2 separate regions of the Homo sapiens genome follow, and region 2 is linked to region 1. Evidence: promoter capture Hi-C in human tissues and cell types (Jung and others, 2019). All regions are on one chromosome and are shown on one strand. The core of a region is centred on a gene start or on the middle of the fragment in contact, and the rest is flanking DNA. Distances in the headings are between cores, read along the strand shown. Region 1 holds the start of SLC5A11 (solute carrier family 5 member 11). Region 2 has its middle 26 kb from the start of AQP8.

Region 1 (5,066 bases), core at 1,025-3,524:
CATGCTGCTGGGGTGCTTTGTTGTGCTTCCAACCCCACCACATACTAGCATTCATTTTATTCCTGGAACACGATTTCTGGCCTCAGGGTCTTTGCCATTCTGTTCCCTCTGCCTGGGATGCTCTTCCCTGCACTCTTTGCTGGACAAGCTCCTACTCATCCTTTAGATGTCAGCCTGCTGTATATCCCCAAAGGAGCCCCCTCTTGGCCTCAATATAAATTGGGTCCCCAAGCTTTTTGCTTTCATGGCAAACACAACTTCTCATCACAGTCTAATCAAGTGTAACACTTGATGTGTGTGATTACCCCTTGTCTGCACTGCACAGCAAGCCCCATAAAGAAAGGTCCATGTCTCTGTCACTCTCATTGTGTCCCCAAAACAGGCATGCAATAAATGTTGGTACAACAAATAAATGTGGGATTTTTAGAGCCTTTGCTATAGATCCTTTGCACGCTGTGACCGCCCAAAAAAGGGACAGCATTTTTCCAAGTCCTATCTGCAGGATGCCCAATGGGCTAGGACACTTCTGTCAACTATTGCCCAGAATAATTCAGCAGAACACCATTTGAAAACCACTGATTGGTAGGGTGCAGTGGCTCATGCCTGTAATCCCAGCACTTTGCAAGGCTGAGGCGGGAGAATCGCTTGAGTTCAGGAGATTGAGACCAGCCAAGGCAACACAGGGAGACCCCATTTGTACAAAAAATAAAAATAAAAAAGTTAGCAGGGCATGCTGGTGAGCTATGATAGTACTACATTTCAGCCTGGGCAACACAGAGAGACCCTGTGAAAGAAAAGACAGAAAAGAAACGAGAGAGAGAGAGAACAGAAAACACACACAGAGAGAGAGAGGAGGCAAAGAAGGAAAGAAGGAAGGAGAAAGGGAAAGAAAGGAAGAAATAAATAATAAAAGAGAGAGAAGAAAGAAAGAAAGAAAGAAAAAAGGGAAAAGAAAGAGAAACAGAGAGGTGGGAGGGAGGGAAGGAAGGAAAGAAGGAAGGAGAAAGAAAGGGAAAGAAAGGAATAAGGAAAGAAATAAAAGAAAGAAGGAAAGAAAGAAAGAACAAAGAAAAGAAAGGAAAAGAAAGAAAAAGAAAGAAAGAGAAAAAGAAAGAAAGGAAAGAAAAAGAAAATCACTGATATTGTGGCTGAGCTCATGGCCACAGGAATTGAGTCTTGGCTTGGCCACTCACTATCTGTATTACCTTGAGCAAGTTATTTAATGACCCTTAGACTCTGTCCATGAATTAGGGGGTGCTGTACCTACCTTACAGGGTTTCTGTGTCAGTTAGATGAGATCCAGGCGTAAAGTTCTCTGCACGTGTCTGACACGTACCAGTGAAGACTTGTATTTGCCTTGTAGTTAACAGCAGCTGCAGTTGTAGTAAATACATTCCTATAGCTTTTTAATGCTTATGTGGATACATTTACCTTCGTTATCTCTGGGTAACACACCTGTGGGGTGGGTCAGCCTGAGGTTCATATTCCCATTTGACAGATAAGGAACCTGAGACTCGGTGAGGCAAAATGTTTGGCTCAATGTCCCTGACCTTGGTTAAGTGGAAGAGCTGGGACCCACGTACGGTGCTGCTGGCTGCCGGCTGCTGGCTTCATACCACCATGCCCACCCCACAAACACACTCCATTGTCCTGGTGTATGACAAGCTTTCTCTGCAGAGAGGGCTGAGCTTCCCCTGCCCCACAGGTGACAGCTGGAGTCCTTCTGCCAGCACCTGTCCCCAGACCAACTTCCCAGTTTGGAGAGTGGCTACCTGTTTGGGGGCAGGGGGTGTCTTACCTTATTCCAGATGCAGGGCTCACCTGCCCTGGGGGCTGTCAGTGGCTTCTAAGGCACTAGGAGGTGGCGGTGGTTGTAAGGAGGGAGATACCCGGGATCCTCTCTCTTTGCAGCCAAGAGCTTCCGGAGACAGCAGTGACCCTTCCTCCTATATGCCCGCTGCTGAGAGAGCCTCCAAGCGGGTCAAACTCCAAACTCCAGCCTCAGCTGCAGCGGGGATTAAAGGAAGCGTGAATGATCTCCCCAGGGCAGAAGAGAGAACGGGGCCCAGCCCAGGACCCTTGAACTCTGAGCAGGTGGGGAAGGTGACATGTCCCACGCTCTGCCCACACCGTCCTCCACCAGGGTCCTCACCTGCGTGGGGACCCATGGCATGGAGGGGTTGGGGAGACGCTGGAGCCCAAGGCACCATCCTGCTTCACTCACCCAGTCTTCCACTGTCCCGCCTCCACGCTGGGGACAGGCAGGCTTGGGACGAGCTGGAGGAAGGGGAGGGGAGGAAAAATGCTGGCGGCGGATGGAGGGGACAGAGGCAAAGTGCCAGGAGGGACGTCCAGCCACAGCCCTCACCGCAGTGGCAGCAACAGGAACAGCAACCATTGCTTGTGCAACCCCTTTCCATATACTCTTCAGACAGAGGCATGGCAAAGAACAGGTGTCTGCCTGAAGTCGAGAGTTCGAGACCAGCCTGACCAACATGGAGAAACCCCATCTCTACTAAAAATACAAAGTTAGCCGGGTATGGTGGTGCATGCCTGTGGTCCCAGCTACTCGGGAGGCTGAGGCAGGAGAATCACTTGAATCCGGGAGGCGGAGGTTGTGGTGAGCCGAGATTACACCATTGCACTCCAGCCTGGGCAACAAGAGCGAAAATCAGTCTCAAAAAAAGAAGAAGAAGAAGAAGAAGAGGTGTCTGAGGCCCTGAAAAACCGTCAGGAGTGACCGAGCCATGGCCAGGCGCCCACATCGGGCCCAGGACATCAGCGGGGCATAGCGAAGATTTCTGCCAGATGCTCAAAGCATCCAAAACTTTATTTACTTTTTATTTCTGAGACAGGATCTCACTCTGTCACCCAGGCTGGAGTGCAGTGGTGGCATCACAGCTTGCTGCAGGCTCATCCTCCTGGGCTCAAGTGATCCTCCCACCACAGCCTCCCGAGTAGCTGGGACTACAGGCGTGCACCACCACACCCAGCTAATTTTTTCATTTTTTTGGTAGAGAGAGAATCTTGCTATGTTGCCCAGGCTGGTCTCCAACTCCTGGGTTTAAGTGATCCTCCCACCTTGGCCTCCCAAAGTGCTGGGATTACAGGGGTCAAACACTGTGCCAGGCCAAATACCAAAACATTTTAAAAATAGTTACTAGTATTTGCAAACCAAGAGGCTTGAAACATAATTCTAGAATACTCACTTTTCTAGAACAACCTGAAGATCTGGCCTCACCAGGCCCCCATGGCCACAGGACAGCTGCTGACTGGGGAGGAGTCGTGGCCTCCCCATCTCACTCCTTCACTGGGCCTGCCAGGCTCTGGGGGGCCCTCAGCTGAGGCCCCTGTCCTGGCACCGAGTAGCCAGAAATAATAGCAGTGATGAACACGTGCCAGGCTCTAAGGGCACAACATGCCTTTACTCACTTGGTCTTTCCAACAACCCTCGAAGTTAGGTCCTGTTATCTCTATCTTACTGACGAGGTAACAGAGGTAGAGGAGATGAGTCATCGGCCCAGGATCACCCGGGTTGTAAGTGACACAGCAAGATTTCAGCCCAGGCCACCTGGCTCTAGAGTCCTGCAGGAGCAGTGGAGGGTGGCTTGACTGGATAAAGGGTGGCCTGGGTGAGCAAACACTGGGTGACTGACCAACACCAGTATGAATGGGGCCTTTGGGGGAGGGACCTGCCCTGGGGGACAGATTTACAGAAGGAACAGCTGGGATTGGAGAAGAGGGACAGACAGAAGGCCATGAATCTGTGATCTGCAGCAGAGGCCACAGCACCAGGAAAGGCAGTGGGGTGCCACCGAGGGTGCACTGCTTCGCCAACCTGGGGTCCAGTCCTGACTTCTTGGGAATGTCTGGGGAGCCTTAGCCATGTGCAGGGTGTCTACAGAAGAGGCGTGGTAGTGAGTGAAGCCGGGCAGGTGGAGCTGAGGCTGACCCGAGAGCATGTGTCCCAGCTGAAGAGGACAGCCACGACCCAGCTCCACGTGGGGGAAGACAGGCCCAATGGGGTCAGAACTTCTGATTGTTCTAGAGAAGTTCTGCAAAGTTTCATGATTACGCATCCTTGAGGGCCAGATGTGGCCTGCTCGACCCTTGGCTTGTCACCTCCGATTGTTTCTCTGTCAGGTTTTTCATTTTTACCCTCAGTGCTATAAAGAATAGGAGAGGTGGAGTGCAGGGGCTCATGCTATCATCTCAGAGCTTTGGGAAGCTGAGGCAGGAGGATCTCTTGAGGCCAGGAGTTAGAGGCCAGTCTGGGTAACTCAGTGAGACCCTCATCTCTACACAAAATAGGAAGAATTAGATGGACATAGCAGTGTGCACCTGTAGTCCCAGCTACTCAGGAGACTGAGGTGGGAGAATCGTTTGAGCCCAGGAGTTCAAGGCTGCAGTGAGCCATGATAGTGCCACTACACTCGAGGCAACAGAATGAGATCTCAATTCAAAAAAAAAAAAAAAAAAAAAAAGAACTGTATAACCACTTTAGAGAACTATTTGGACATTTCTTATAAAGTTACCATACACTTTGCCGAGCGCGGTGGCTCATGCCTGTAATCGCAGCACTTTGGGAGGCCAAGGTGGGTGGATCACAAGGTCAGGAGTTCAAGACCAGCCTGCACTCGTCTCTACTAAAAATACAAAAATTAGCTGGGTGTTGTGGTGGGCCCCTGTAATCCCAGCTACTCAGGAGGCTGAGGCAGGAGAATCATTTGAACCTGGGAGGCAGATGGAGGTTGCAGTGAGCCAAGACCGTGCCATTGCACTCCAGCCTGGGTGACAAGGCGAAACTCCATCTAAAAAATAAAATTAAATAAATAAATAAATAAAGTTACCATACACCTCCCCCATGACCCAGCAATTTCACTCTTAGGTATTTATCAAGAGAAATGGAGACATATGTTCCCAAAAAGTTGTGCACACAAGTGTTCATGGTGGCCTTATTCAAAACTGTTTCTAAGTGGAAACAACACCAGTTCCATCGACAGGTGAGTGAAGAAACAAACTGCGGTGCATCCAACACCGTGAAAAACTTTCATCGAAAGGAATGA
Region 2 (5,066 bases), core at 1,261-3,760, 340 kb before region 1:
GTCCCAGCTACTCAGGAGGCTGAGGCAGGAAAATGGTGTGAACCCGGGAGGCGGAGCTTGCAGTGAGCCAAGATCGCTCCACTGCACTCTAGCCTGGGTGACAGAGCAAGACTCCGACTCAAAAAAAAAAAAAAAATCCAAATGTAATAGAAAAATGCAATCACAAAGGTAACTTTGAACAAACATTTCTGAATAATTCTGTATTCTAACTTATGAGTACAAGAAAATGTTGGTATGCTATTTGTACTTTTTTTTTTTTTTTGAGACGGAGTCTCACTCTGTCACCCAGGCTGGAGTGCAGTGGTGCGATCTCATCTCACTGCAACCTCTGCCTGCCAGGTTCAAGCCATTCTCCTGCCTCAGCCTCCTGAGTAGCTGGGGCTACAAGCGTGCACCGCCACACCCGGCTAATTTTTGTATTTTTAGTAGAGACGGGATTTCACCATATTGGTCAGGCTGGTCTCGAACTCCTGACCTCATGATCTGCCTACCTCAAGCCTCCCAAAGTGATGGGATTACAGGCTTGAGCCACTGTGCCCAGCCGCCTGGCTAATTTTTGTATTTTTTAGTAGAGACAGGGTTTCAACATGTTGGCCAGGCTGGTCTCGAACTCCTGACTTCAAGTGATCCACCCACCTTGGCTTCCCAAAGTGCTGGGATTACAGGCGTGAGCCACCATTCCCGGTTCAGTCCTTCCAGATTTTCTAAATTCTACTCTGTCATTAAATCCAGCTTCCCAGAGCTAAATAATCAGACCGCATTGCTTTGGCCTCATAGAATCACCTTCATGGAATTTCACTTCGGCATTAAGTCATCAGTTGCATCCAAGGACCCTGGGGCATCAGCTACAAACCCAGGTCCACGAACATGCGAATCACAGGGATCTCACTGAGGGTTTCTGGGTGAAGCTTCTCCAGGGTCTCCTGCAGGAACAGCTGTGCCTCTCTTGAGCATGTGGCTGGCTGTAATTTTATGGAAACTGAATCATGTTTCAATCCTTGAGAGGGAGGACTTGGGGGAAGTCAAATTTATGGCCCACTTCCAGCATCTATGCGAGACAATGAAATGTGCACATCCGTGGGCTAATAACTCCTGGCATTTAAAACAAAACAAAATGAACAAACAAAAAAAGCCTCATGTTCAAACTTCCCCGAGCATTTGTTTGTTTGTTTGTTTTTCTGTTGTATAGTTTTTTTTGTTTTTTTGTTTTGTTTTGAGACAGTCTCGCTCTGTCGCCAGGCTGGAGTGTGGTGGCACAATCTCAGCTCACTGCAACCTCCATCTCCTGGGTTCAAGTGATTCTCCTGCTTCAGTCTCCTGAGTAGCTGGATTACAGGCAGTAGCCACCACCCCCGGCTAATTTTTTGTATTTTTAGTAGAGATGGGGTTTCACCATGTTGGCCAGGATGGTGTCGATCTCTTGACCTTGTGATCCGCCTGCCTCAGCCTCCCAAAATGCTGGGACTACAGGAGTGAGCCACCATGCCCATCCTGTTGCTGTAGTTTTATCAGGTATCTCAATTCCCCTTGTAGAACAAGGAGGGATATAAAGAAATAAACCAAAATATAAATATATCTCCTGCCCATAACAGATGCTTTATTCATGATCAGATATCCACTTCTCCCACCCAAAAATGAAAGGCATAAAAGCCTCTAAGATGGAATCCCTTGAGTCAGGAGTTTGAGGATGCAGAAAGCTGTGATTATGCCACCGCACTCCAGCCTGGGTGAGACAGTGAGACCCCATCTCTTAAGAAAACAAAACAAAAAATAACAATAAGATGAAAAAATATCGTTTGACCCTGCCTCAAACTTCATAAATTTTCTGACGTTATAGAAACCTATTCTCAGCTGGGCACGGTGGCTCACGCCTGTAATCCCAGCACTTTGGAAGGCCAAGGAGGGCAGATCACTTGAGGTCAGGAGTTCGAGACCAGCCTGATCAATATGGTGAAACCCCATCTCTACTAATTATACAAAAATTAGTCAGGCATGGTGGTTGGCACCTGTAATTCCAGCTACTCGGGAGACTGAGGCAGGAGAATCGCTTGAACCTGGGAGGAGGAGGTTTTGGTGAGCTGAGATTGCGCCACTGCATTCCAGCCTGGGCAACAGAGGGAGACTCTGTCTCAAAACAAAACAAAACACAAAACAAACCAATTCTCTGCACGCTACAGTGAACACAACCAAAATGACTTCACACTGGGTAGCCGATGATCTAAAAGTCCTGTGTATTTTGCCCATCTTGTATTATAAAAGCTCGAAAGCCAGATATTCTATTTCCCACCGTCTCTTCCAAATAGATTTAGTTCTAGGGTTGCCAGATTTAGCAAAAAAAAAAAAAAAAAAATACAGAACGCCCAGTTAATTTGAATTTCAGGTAAACAACACATAATGTTTTTAGTGTAAGTATACTGCAAATTTCAGGTAAACAACACATTATTTCTTTAGTGTATGCATGTGCCAAATATTACATGGGTCCCAGTTATATATTTTTTTAATTATGTGTTCTTTACTGAAATTCTATTTAACTGGGCATTCTGTATTTCATTTGGCAACCCTACCCAGTTCTTAGCATGAGATACAGAGGGAAGTCTATTAGGCATATTTGGGAACAATTTTATTCTGGATAAAAAAGACAGAAACCACTGAAAAAAAAAAAAGACCCATCTTTTTTCCTGCCATGAATGCAGTTATGATGCCTGGCACTCTGGGAGCTACTTTGTGATCATGAGGCAACAAGCTGAAGATGAAAAGTCAACATGCTGTCCAGGCGCAGTGGCTCACCCCTGTAATCCCAGCACTTTGGGAGGCCGAGGCAGGTGGATCACTTGAAGCCAGCAGTTCGAGACCAGCCTGACCAACAGGGTGAAATCCCATCTCTACTGAAAAATAAAACAAAACACACACAGAAAAAACAATGAAAATTAGCTGGGCATGCTGACGCATGCCTATAATCCCAGCTACTCAGGAAGTTGAGGCACTTGAATCATGTTTCAATCCTTGAGAGGACTTGGGGGGAAGTCAAATTTGTGGTCTACTTCCAGCATCTGTGCGAGACAATAAAATGTGCACATCTGTGGGTAATATAACTCACCGATTATATTAGGGAGGCAGAGGTTGCAGTGAGCCAAGATCACGCCACTGCACTCCAGCCTGGGCGAGAGAGTGAGACCCTGTCTCCAAAAAAAGAAAAAAAGTCAACATGCCAAGGAAGACAGAGCAGAAGGCATGAATCCAAGCTCTTGGTGGCATTCATCAATTAATGGCGTATTCCTGAAACCATTTAGATAGTGCATTTCAAAAGCCGTTTCTGCAACTAAGTATTCAAAAGCCTCACTAAGAACTGTAAGACTTTTGAGGAGAGGGTCATTCTTCATCAACAGCATCAAGGGGTGCCCAGAAAAGGAGAAATAAGCCAACCTGACAAATGGGAAGAAATGAGACCCCACACCTTCATGTAATGGTGGTGCTGGGGGAAAAGAAAAAGATTTTATGTGCTATTAAGGGCAGGGAGAAAGGAGACACATATAACATAGCAGTCAAAAGCACAGGCTCTAAAGCCAACCTGCCTGGTTTCAAATTCAGTTCCATCATTGATTGGCTGTATGACCTTGGACAAATTACACAATTTCCACATACCCTTATTTCCTCATGTTTAAAATGAGAATAAGGCTGGGCACAGTGACTCACGCCTGTAATCCGAACACTTTGGGAGGCCAAAGCAAGAGGACGGCGTGAGCCCAGGAGTTCAAGACAAACCTGGGCAACACGGTGAGACCCCATCTATACAAAATATAAAAAATCAGTCAGGCATGGTGGCATATGCCTGTAGTCCTAGCTAATTAGACTTGGGAGGTTGAGGTGGGAGGATCCGTTGAGCCCAAAGTGGTTGCAATGAGCTGCGATTATGCCACTGCGCTCCAACATGGGTGACAGGAGTGAGGCCCGGTCTCAAAAAAAAGTGAGGATTAAAACAAACTGACGTGGAGTTGTTATAGGGACGGAATAAATTAACACAAGCAATTAGAAGCACAAATATGCAATTGGTTAGTAATGACGGAAGACACGGGTATACAGGCATGCTCTCTTGCGAATGCGAATCCATCTGCCTAGGGGACTTTGTATGACAGTCTCAGGAAAGCTTCCTCGGCCAGCTTAAATGGAAAAGCTGCTTCTCTTTTTTTCTTTTTCTTTTTCTTTGAGACGGAGTCTTGCTCTGTTGCCCAGGCTGGAGTGCAGTGGTGCGATCTCAGTTCACTGAGAGCTCAACCTCCGCTTCCTGGGTTCAAGTGATTCTCGTGCCTCAGCCTCCTGAGTACCTGGGATGACAGGTGTGCGTCACCATGCCGCGCTAAGGCTAGTTTTGTTGTTGTTGTTGTTTTTGAGGCAGAGTCTCACTCTGTCGCCAGGCTGGAGTGCAGTGGTGCGATCTCGGCTCACTGCAACCTCCACCTCCCGGGTTCAAGCAACTCTCCTGCCTCAGCCTCTGGAGTAGCTGGGACTACAGGCACGTGCCACCATGCCCAGCTAATTTTTGTATTTTAGTAGAGACGGAGTTTCACCATGTTGGCCAGGATGGTCTCGATCTCTTGACCTCATGATCCACCCGCCTCGGCCTCCCAGAGTGCTGGGATTACAGGCGTAAGCCACCACGCCTGGCCTAATTTTCTTTTTTTTTTTTTTAATAGAGACAGGGTTTCACCATGTTGGCCAGGCTGCTCTCGAACTCCTGACCTCAAGTGATCCGCCTGCTTTGGCCTCCTAAAGTGCTGGGATTACAGGCATGAGCCACTGCACCCAGCCAATAAGCTGCTTTTGTTAGGTGAATCCATGGCTTTCCCACATAAAGGTTGCCATACCTTACAGTAAGGCATATTTGACAGTCCTCCAAAAGAATGAAAGCTCCTTAAGGGCATATGTCATGTCTGTCTTGCTTATACAGTAGGTGCTTATCTTTCATTGAATAAAATAATAAAATAATGAAAGGAGCCAGGTGCAGTGGCTCACACCTGTAATCCCAGCACTTTGGGAGGCCGAGGAGGGCAGATTGCCTGAGGTCAGGA

Evidence for each region. The method cuts DNA at HindIII sites, captures the fragments that hold promoters and counts their contacts. A contact is called where the count stands out against the background at its distance.
Region 2: a fragment that was not itself captured here is called in contact with the fragment with the promoter of SLC5A11 in region 1 in 3 of the 25 tissues and cell types used here (aorta, spleen and thymus).

Annotation. Positions count from the first base shown.
Region 1 is chr16:24,843,171-24,848,236 of GRCh38, reverse strand. It overlaps SLC5A11 (solute carrier family 5 member 11), which reads right to left and starts at 2,274. Exons shown (of 17, transcript NM_001352248.3): 1 at 2,225-2,274; 2 at 1,799-2,005. The HindIII fragment of the contact is 12,271 bases long and covers 950-5,066 here.
Region 2 is chr16:25,188,128-25,193,193 of GRCh38, reverse strand. No RefSeq gene overlaps it. Among named protein-coding and RNA genes, the nearest start is that of AQP8, 26 kb to the left of the region's middle. The HindIII fragment of the contact is 5,749 bases long and covers 1-5,066 here.